Regions from separate parts of the Homo sapiens genome. Here all the other regions are linked to region 1. The links are contacts of gene promoters, found by promoter capture Hi-C in blood cells and fetal thymus (Javierre and others, 2016). All regions are on one chromosome and are shown on one strand. Each heading gives the region's core, a stretch centred on a gene start or on the middle of the fragment in contact. The rest is flanking DNA. Distances are from core to core; before and after follow the strand shown. Region 1 holds the start of OR1A2 (olfactory receptor family 1 subfamily A member 2). Region 2 has its middle 18 kb from the start of OR1D5. Region 3 overlaps OR3A2 (olfactory receptor family 3 subfamily A member 2).

Evidence for each region. Contacts are between HindIII fragments. The CHiCAGO score rates a contact against its expected background, and 5 or more counts as called.
Region 2: a fragment that was not itself captured here is called in contact with the fragment with the promoter of OR1A2 in region 1 in 1 of 17 cell types (M1 macrophages); the score reaches 5.8 in M1 macrophages.
Region 3: a contact is called between a fragment that was not itself captured here and the fragment with the promoter of OR1A2 in region 1, in 1 of 17 cell types (M1 macrophages). The highest score is 5.1, in M1 macrophages.

The regions. Positions count from the first base shown.
Region 1 is chr17:3,195,927-3,199,140 of GRCh38, forward strand. It overlaps OR1A2 (olfactory receptor family 1 subfamily A member 2), which reads left to right and starts at 1,593. Exons shown (of 1, transcript NM_012352.3): 1 at 1,593-2,522. The coding sequence starts at 1,593. The coding sequence ends at 2,522. The HindIII fragment of the contact is 7,515 bases long and covers 1-3,214 here.
Region 2 is chr17:3,080,375-3,083,588 of GRCh38, forward strand. No RefSeq gene overlaps it. Among named protein-coding and RNA genes, the nearest start is that of OR1D5, 18 kb to the left of the region's middle. The HindIII fragment of the contact is 1,573 bases long and covers 915-2,487 here.
Region 3 is chr17:3,303,953-3,307,166 of GRCh38, forward strand. All of the region lies in intron 2 of OR3A2 (olfactory receptor family 3 subfamily A member 2), which reads right to left. Among named protein-coding and RNA genes, the nearest start is that of OR3A1, 7.2 kb to the left of the region's middle. The HindIII fragment of the contact is 1,873 bases long and covers 756-2,628 here.

The sequences.
Region 1 (3,214 bases), core at 343-2,842:
GGTGGAGCTTGCAGTGAGCTGAGATCTCGCCACTGCACTCCAGCCTGGGCAACAGAGTGAGACTCTGTCTCAAAAAAAAAAAAAAAAAAAGAAAAGAAACATCTTGCAAACTACTTAGGTTTTAAGTGCAGAGTGTGGGGTTTGGTCAGACATGTTAGCAGGATGACTGAATATGGAAATATGGGAAAAAGAAATCGAGACCACAGATACAGACATGACAGTTTACTAAAGAATAGTTGAATCCACTGTGGACTTGGATTACTACAAAAAGAAATAAGGAAGACAAGGAAGAGAAGACTGCTATGGATTGAGTTTGCCCTCACCAAAACTCATGTTGAAATGTGATCCCCAGTGTGGGAGGTGTTGGGAGGTAAAGCCTAGTGGGAAGCGTTTGAGTCAAGGGGGTGGATCCCTCATGAGTGGTCTGGTGCTGTTCTCATGGTAGTAAGTGTGTTCTCATTCTCTCAAGACTGGATTAATCTTAAGGGAATGTTCCTACAGGAGTGGGTTGTGATAAAACCAGTATACTTCTCGGGTTTTCTCTCTTCCCCTGTATCCACTTCCCTGTTGACCTTCTCTGACAGGTTATGATGCAGCAAGAAAGCCCTTGCCAGAAGCCAGGGCCACGCTCTTGAATGTCCCAGCCTACAGATCCATGAGACAATTCAACCTCTTTTCTTATAAATTCCCCAGTCTCAAGTATTCTGTTATAGCAACACAAAATGAACCAAGACAAAGGCCAGTGGAAAAAGCACTGTGATTATGTATAGTTATGGGCTTTGAAAAGAGAGAAAAGCTGTCAAAAAGATAGGGAATATCTTTGAAAATCGAACACCTGTGGAGTAAGTTCACTGAGCTTGTTTTTCTAGGACCTAATGCCAGTTGTCTTTCTGTTTTAGAATCTGATGGCAGTGTAGACACCTCTGACTTCCTGGGCTCTGGGCTCACCCCGAGACTGGTTGGAGGAACAACTTTAAATTGTTCACTGCATTCCTACTATGATACATCCTTTGCACTGGAGGATTTTTTGTTTGTTTTTTTCACAAGGACTCCAAGAGGCTATCCTTTTCTTACCATGTGTAATAAAATTATTGTGTGAGTCTGGCTTTCCTATTCAATTATAAGGTCCTTGAGAACAGATGCTATGTCTTGTGTAACAAATAAGTGGATGAATAACTGTATTTTCACATATTTATTGTTTCTCTACAAAGTAAAAAAAAATCTAAGACATGAAACATGAAATTAGGTTTTTGTTATGTGATTAAATTATAGATATTAAGGTGGTGGTGCTACATTTGGAAGGACAACCATCTTTACTTCACAGATCGCTAACTTCTTTGACATGAGTGTCCAGGAGGTCAATGAGAGTTCGTCCCATTGACCAACAGAGATTTTACCCAAAAGTGCTGGCTATATTTATGATTGTAAAAACCAGGTATAGCCATGGCTAATGAAAAGTGGTGGATAAGTTTGACAGCAGGTGAATTTGTAAAATAATTAAAAACGTTTAAGTGGTAGATAAGGCAGACTATAACACACACTAACTGCGCTAATAATTCTGGGTTCCTCTCCCCTTTCATGCTGAAGAAGCCATGAAGAAAGAAAATCAATCCTTTAACCTGGATTTTATTCTCCTGGGAGTTACTAGTCAGCAAGAACAGAATAATGTCTTCTTTGTGATTTTTTTGTGCATTTACCCCATCACACTGACTGGAAATCTGCTCATCATCTTGGCCATCTGTGCTGACATTCGCCTTCACAACCCCATGTATTTTCTCCTTGCCAACCTCTCCTTGGTTGACATCATCTTCTCATCCGTAACCATCCCTAAGGTGCTGGCCAACCATCTCTTGGGGAGCAAGTTCATCTCCTTTGGGGGATGCCTAATGCAGATGTATTTCATGATAGCCTTGGCCAAGGCAGACAGCTATACCTTGGCTGCAATGGCATACGATCGAGCTGTGGCCATCAGCTGCCCACTTCATTACACAACAATTATGAGTCCACGGTCTTGTATCCTGCTTATTGCTGGGTCTTGGGTGATTGGAAACACCAGTGCTCTCCCCCACACTCTGCTCACAGCTAGTTTGTCCTTCTGTGGCAACCAGGAAGTAGCCAATTTCTACTGTGACATTATGCCTTTGCTGAAGTTGTCCTGTTCTGACGTCCACTTTAATGTGAAGATGATGTACCTAGGGGTCGGCGTTTTCTCTTTGCCATTACTATGCATCATTGTCTCCTATGTTCAGGTCTTTTCCACAGTCTTCCAAGTTCCATCTACCAAGAGTCTATTCAAAGCCTTCTGCACCTGTGGCTCCCACCTCACAGTTGTTTTTTTATATTATGGTACAACGATGGGCATGTATTTCCGCCCTCTGACCAGTTACAGCCCCAAAGATGCAGTGATAACTGTGATGTATGTGGCAGTGACCCCAGCATTAAATCCTTTCATCTATAGTCTGAGAAATTGGGATATGAAGGCAGCCCTACAGAAACTCTTCAGCAAGAGAATCTCCTCATAGCCGCTGTGAGATTACACGCTGGATACTGTAATGACCAAGTGGGATACACTTGGAAATCCAGCTCCAATGTCATTGCCCTTCAAGAAGCTCCTTTTGTTCTTTTGAGCCAGAAATTCCTCTACCAGAAATCTTGTAACGGATGTGATATTTTATTGAAATTATCACTTTGGACAAATTCCTGCTCTTTTTTGAGAGAGTGGCAGGCTGGGAATATCAGGTTCATGTCCCAGTTAGCAGAAATTTACTAGCAGAGTAAAGTTGAAAAAGTCTGAGTCTCAGCTTGCATATCTACATGTTAGGAAAATAATATCTGCCGGACTCTCTGACACAGCTTGTGTATATCAAAATGGCTCATGCTTTGAAGGCTGCAAATTACTATTCTAATGTAATCTTTACTGGACTTTTATGTCTAGCCACCCCTACTATACTTGTACTCTGGTGGCAAAAGCTGTGTTAACATATCACTTACTTTTTTAGTATTTTGATCATATAAAATATTGGTGGAAAGCAGGAAAATGTATAAAAATATTAGTTTCTGAAATACAATCTGATAATGAATAAACATAATCAAACTGCATAGTATTCATTCATGTATTATAGAGCTGGTATGTCTGTTAAGGTCAGTTAAGATCCATGCAGGAAACAGAAATCACACTTGGTATATTTATACCAAGAAGATTTGATACAGAGAA
Region 2 (3,214 bases), core at 451-2,950, 120 kb before region 1:
TTTTAAACATAAGTTCCAATTTCAGATAATGTCTTTGTGAATGCATATGACTATAGGCTTTTAGAAACAGCCAGGTGACATCTTGAATGCTTTGCTGCTTAGAAGTGTCGTCCACCAGATAACCTAAATAATCACTCTCAAGTACAAAGTTCCACAGATCTTTAGGGTGGGGCAAAATGCCTCCAGTGTCTTTGCTAAAGCATAGCTAGAATGACCTTTACTCTAGTTCACACTAAGTTTCTCATCTCCATCTGAGACCACCTCAGCCTGGACTTCAATGTCCATTATCACTTTCAACATTTTGTCCAAAACTATTCAACAAATCTCTAGGAAGTTCCCAACTTTCCTACATCTTCCTCTCTTCTTCTGAGTCTTCTAAACTGTTCCAACCTCTGCTCCTTACCCAGTTCCAAAGTTGCTTCTACATTTTCAGGTATCTTTATAGAGGTACCCTACTCCGCTGATACCAATTTTCTGTATTAGTCCATTTTCACATTGCTATAAAAACTACCTGACACTGGATAATGTATATAAAAAAAGAGGTTTAATTGACTCACATTTTTGCATAGCTGGGGAAGCATTCAGGAAACTTACAATCATGGCAGAAAGTGAAAGGGAAGCAAGGTACATCTTACATGGCAGCAGGGGAGAGAGAGGGGCGGGGGACGTGCCACACTTCTAAACTATCAGATCTCAGGAGAACTCACTCACTATCATGAGAATAACATGAGGAAAATCTGCTGCCATGGTCCAATCACCTCCCACCAGGTTCCTCCCCTGACACTAAGGGTTACAATTTGAAGTGAGATTTGGGTGGAGACACAGAGCCAAACCACATCACTTGGTTATTATTTGCATGGAATGTATTTTTCTTCTTCCCTTAACTTTCAGTTTCTGTGTGTCCTTAAATTTAAAGCTTGTGTCTTGTAGAAAGCACATAGTTGGATCATGTATTTTAATTCATTCAGCTGCTGTATATATTTTGAATAATGAGTGTGATTTTCTTATACTTGAAGTAATTATTGAAGTAATTACTGATAGGCAGACACTTACTATGGTCAATTTGTGATTGTGTTCTGCCTTTTTTGTCAGTCTTTGGTTCTCTTTCTCAAAGAAATACCTCCCTTCTTTGTTTCTATCTGACCACAGTGAGTCAATCATGCCATTACCCCCCTGTGATCTCTGTGAGGTGAGACTGGAGTGGGCATCCTGATAGGTATCTTGGAATGCTGGGAAAGACTGATGCCCATCTCTTATTGTATTTTTTGTGATCTGATGATTTTTTAAAATAGTGATATAATTTTATCCTTTTTTCTTTATTTTTAAGTTACTTTTATTTATTAATTTTAAGAGACAGGGTTTCACTCTGTTGCCCAGGCTGGATTGCAGTGGCACGATCCTAGCTTACTGTGGTCTCCAGCTCCTAGGCTGAAGGGATACTCCCACTTCAGCTTCCTGAGTGGCTGAGACTACAGGCACATGCCACCATGCCCTGTCAATCTTATTTTTTTATTGTACAATGGCTTTTTCCTTGTGGTCACCATGAGGTTTGGATAGAAATTCTTATAACAATCTGTTTGAAGCTGATAACAACTTATCCACATAGAAAAACTCCACACATAATCTTCACACTTCCACATATATCTCCTTGATTTCAGAATTTACATATTTTTATATTTTTTTGTAGTTATTTGTATTCTTAATTATTTTCCAAATGAATTTAATTTTCTATCTGTATATTCTTGTAGTTCACTGAACTTCTTTAAGAGGACAATTCTGGATTTATTGTGAATCCTTTCATGGATCTTCATTTTTGCAGGATTTATCGTTATATCTTTATTAGTTTTTTTTCTTTTGGAGGTGTCATGATTCCCTGATTCTTCATAATCCTTGTGTCTTTTGTTGGTGTCTGCACATTGAGGAAATAGTCAGCTCTTCCAGATTTTACAGGTATTCTTGGGATAGACCTTCACTCTTAAGTCTAGCCTGTGATTTTGGATGGGCCAGCTGGTAATGACATGGAATAGACAGAGCCTGCCATCAGGTTCTCTCATTTGTGGGGCCAAGGCCTTTGCTCTGAGGTTGGAATGGGACTACTGGCTAGGCTCCATTTTCCGTTAGACCACAGGCTTGGCTTTGGAATCAGGCAGAACTTCTGGCTGGGTGCTGCAATTGCTTCTGATTGGGCTGAAACACAGGGTATGTTCACTGGCCAGGCAGGACCTCTATTTGAGTTCTGCAATTGGGTCAGGCTGCAGGTTGGACCCCAAGGTTAGTCAGAATTACTACTTGGGATGATCAGGATCAGCTGCTATGATCAGAGAGATGTATGGTTGAGGCTTGGCTCCCTGTCAGGGTGAAGCCCTGGAGTGGGTTTTGAGGCTGATGTGAACTGCTATTTCAATTTTTGGGTGGTCTAAGTTTAGCCCATTGTTTACTGAAAGGCATTGTATTGGGCAACACCCTCCCTGGGTGGGGTCTTGGATAAGCTTTGAGGCTGACTTGAGAGCTGTTTGAATTTCTGGGTGGTGTAAGTCAGGCTTTGTACTTTGCCAACAGTTGCCGTGTTTCATTTCTCCCTCGCTGGATGGCGTCTTGAGGTGGGCTTTGAGGACGAGCTGAGCTGGTACCTTTGATTGGATGCCTCTGCAGGCCACAGCACAGAGCACCATCAAAATGTGAGCACTAGTTGCTGTGAGCAATACCTCCATTCTTTGTTTCTATCTGACCACAGGCAGTGAGCCATGTCATTACCCCCTGTGATCTCTGTGAGGTGAGACTGGAGTGGGCATCCTGAGAGATGTCTCAGAATGCTAGGGAAGCTAGATGTCCATCTTCAGCTCCCTTTTCCCACTGTAGAAACTGTGGGCCCAGGGAAATTCTCTGTTTATGGCACTGTGCCATGTTGAGGGAGGGCAAGGGACAATGTGGTTGAAGTGAGTGCATTTCTCTTGCTCTTCAAATGCAGTTCTTATTTGTTTCTGTGATACACACAAGTATTTCAGGCTTATTCTCAAGGTTTGGGGGTTTTCACTGAGGTATACTTGTCTGTGGATAGCTGCTAGTAGAACTTTCTGTTGCAGGGAGAGAAGGCTAGGACATTTTATTCTGCCATTTTGCTGATATCATTATAGCCATTGCTTTTTATCCCCTATTTTTTATTTCAATAGGTTTTTGGGGAACAAGTGGTATTTGGTTACAAGGATGTTCCTTA
Region 3 (3,214 bases), core at 442-2,941, 110 kb after region 1:
GTTTTGGTACTAATATATATATATACTAATTATTATACTAATAATATATATATATATATATGTACCAAAATAACAGTAAGCCAAAGTAACAGTAAGCCAAAAATAAAGCAGACTCTACATGTATTGCAGCTTGGCTTTGATTAGGGGGACTGAGACAACACTCTTTGTAGGACTCTACACAACCTGTGTGATGGCTGGTGAGCACATGAACCATTCTTGGCTCTACGCCTCAGAGACTTTTCCTTCCTACTGCCTTATAGTGTTTTTCTCTCCGGATGTTAGAGTTTTCTCTCATGCACACACAGATTCCAATGCAGCCAAGGACCGGCGAAGACCCACCTGCAGGACTCTGGAGCTGTCTATCTGTGAAGCTCCCTCTTCTCCAGTACTTTCCCTCACCAATTCGTGCTGCCACAGCCAGCCTGAACTCTGTCTCCTCAATTCAGAAGACCACTGGGCTCTGTTTGGGTTCTCCTTGCCCTGGGTGTGGTTGGCCACTCTTTCTGGCAATAAGCTGAGGCAACTGTATTTCTCACACTGCTCTAGAGGTAAGGATTCACCGTCCTGCCCTGCATGGTATCCACTGCTTCATAGATTTTGTTTGGTTTCTTAGCTGTTTAAAATGGGAGAGTAAATCTGGTCCCTGTCACTTCATCATCATGGCCAGAGTAGTTTTCTAAGGAAATACAATTTCCCAAAACTGTTTACGAAGAAAAAGAAAATTTAAACAGAACAAAAAACAGAAATATTGACAAAGCTTTGGTCCTCCCTTCCTTCAAAAGCCTGCGGTCCATATGATTTCATAGGAGAATTCTACCAATCATTTAAAAACAAACTAGGTATATTCATACGATGGAATACTTCAGCAATAAAAAATAAACTATTGATACATGCTACAACATGAATGACTATAAAATCCATTATGTTGAGTAAAGGAAGCCTTACATAAAGGCATATGCACTGTACGATTCCACTTATATAAAGTTTTAGAATAGGTAGAATTAATCTATGTTGAAAAAATCAGAACAATAATTGTTTTTGAGTAGTCATTTTTTAACTGGAGAAAGGTACGGGGTAACATTTTTGGGTGCTGGCAATGTTCTGTATTTTGGTAAGTGTATGCATTTGTCAAAACTCAGTAAGTGTGCACTTCACATTTCTGTGTTTCACTGCATATTAAGTTTGCATAAACAACAGACATAAACATATTGAAGTTGTGTTATGATATGCATGCTTAAGTATTTAGGGGGACATGTACTGATGTCTGCGTCTAGAGGGGTGGAGAGGTATGTCTTCGTTTTTTTCCTTCACAGTTGACAGAGTTAAAATACCTCTGTTAACCACCAATCCACCAGGCCTTGAAGCCAATCAAAACTCCCCTTGAAACAAAGATATAGGCAAGGAATATGAAGAATATAAGCAGGGGATATGAAGACTACATGTTTCCCTGCCCCTTATATAAAATATAACTGAGTAATTTTTACTTTTGTCATGAGGTAACAAGGAATCTAGTCTTGGGAATGTAGAGTATCAATGGAAGAGACGAGATCCTTGCACAAATTAGGGAGGTAGAGATTACTCATGACATAGGACAAAAATCAGAGATGCAAATACTTTGTTGTATTATTATTCATAATGGCAAAAAATTGAAAACTAAGTATGCAATGGTTAAGTGAATGTTAGCACATGCAAATGGTAGCATATTAGAAAATCATAAAATTTTGAAGAATAATATATTACACGAAGCTCAAATATAAAGACAGTAAAAGAAAGTTGAAAATAAAATTCTATTAAATATCATACCTTTTGTAATAAAATTCTATTAAATATCATACCTTTTGTAAACCACAAATGATTAGACGTGTGTGGACACGTGCATAGGAATAGTGATTAGGTGGTAATTATTTGGTTCGTGCCTTCCTTCTTTATGAGCTGATAAGCTCCATGTAGGGAGGGAGCATGTCTGTATTTGGTCACCTCTTTACTAGCATATTACCTGAAAAATAGTACTGTGCTCAATTAATAGATGCCAAATAATGAGTGGCAGGATCCTATCTCTGTTAAGCAAGGTGAAGAGGAGCATTTGGTGTGCGGAACAAGCAGCTCTGGATACTCAAGAAGGTGGTTCAGCAGCTCAGTGGAAGAACAAGCCAACAGTGGCTGAGCTCCACTGGAGGCTCTGCCTTTTTTGGTTGTTGTTTGTTTGCCTGTTTTTTTAGAGACAGGCCTTGCTCTGTTACCCAGGCCGAAATTCTATGGCGCCATCATAGCTCAACGCAGCCTCAAACTCCTGGCCTCAAGCAATCCTCCTACCTTAGCCTCCCAAGTAGCTGGGACTACATGTTTGTGCCACCACAGTCAGCTAATTTTTTTTGTAGAGACAGGGTTTCATTATGTTGCCCCTGATCTAGAACGCCTGGCCTCAAGCAATCCCCCCACTCCAGCCTCCCAAACTGTTGGGATTAGAGGCACAAGCCACCGCATCCAGCCACCCCCATTTTGATGAGGTTACTTCCTCATCCAGGAGGCACCAGATGTAATGCAGTTACCTAGATGCTCCCACTCCCCCTTCCAATTCCTACAAATATATAGAGTGTTTGTGGGGGGTGGGGTCCCTTTCTACTGAAAAGCTTGCCATAGTGTGTGTAGTCTAGTGACGCTCAACCTTAGCCCCTCTCCATGTGGAATAGGGAGAGTGCAGGGGATCACTGTGCTCTACTACTCTTCAAAAAAAAAAAAAAAACCGTAACCCCTTTTATTTTCTCCACTTAAAATCAAATAGAAAACAAAAACCACTAATATCTTCAAAAGACATTGTTAGTGTAAGAGAAAGACTAAGAACCACTTAAAATCAAATAGAAAACAAAAACCACTAATAACTTCAAAAGACATTGTTAGTGTAAGAGAAAGACTAAGAACAAAAATTGGGTTTATAGAGTCAAACATAAGTGAGTGTCACTCTTATACTTCCAAGTTTTTCCACAACAAGGCATGTGGTTCAACTGGATTTACACACGCACGCGTGCTTGTGTGTGTGCGCATTTTGTACAAAAGGTTTTGTACATCTTGGGTTCCTGTGGGATGTTCAGGTAGAAATATCCAACACACAGGCATTAGGGTCAACAACTTAGTGTCTGGGAGGGAGATAAAAACTGAGGATCGCCTGCATGTACTGCCTTTGGATTGCTATGGGAAGACAGAGGAAGGCCTCCTA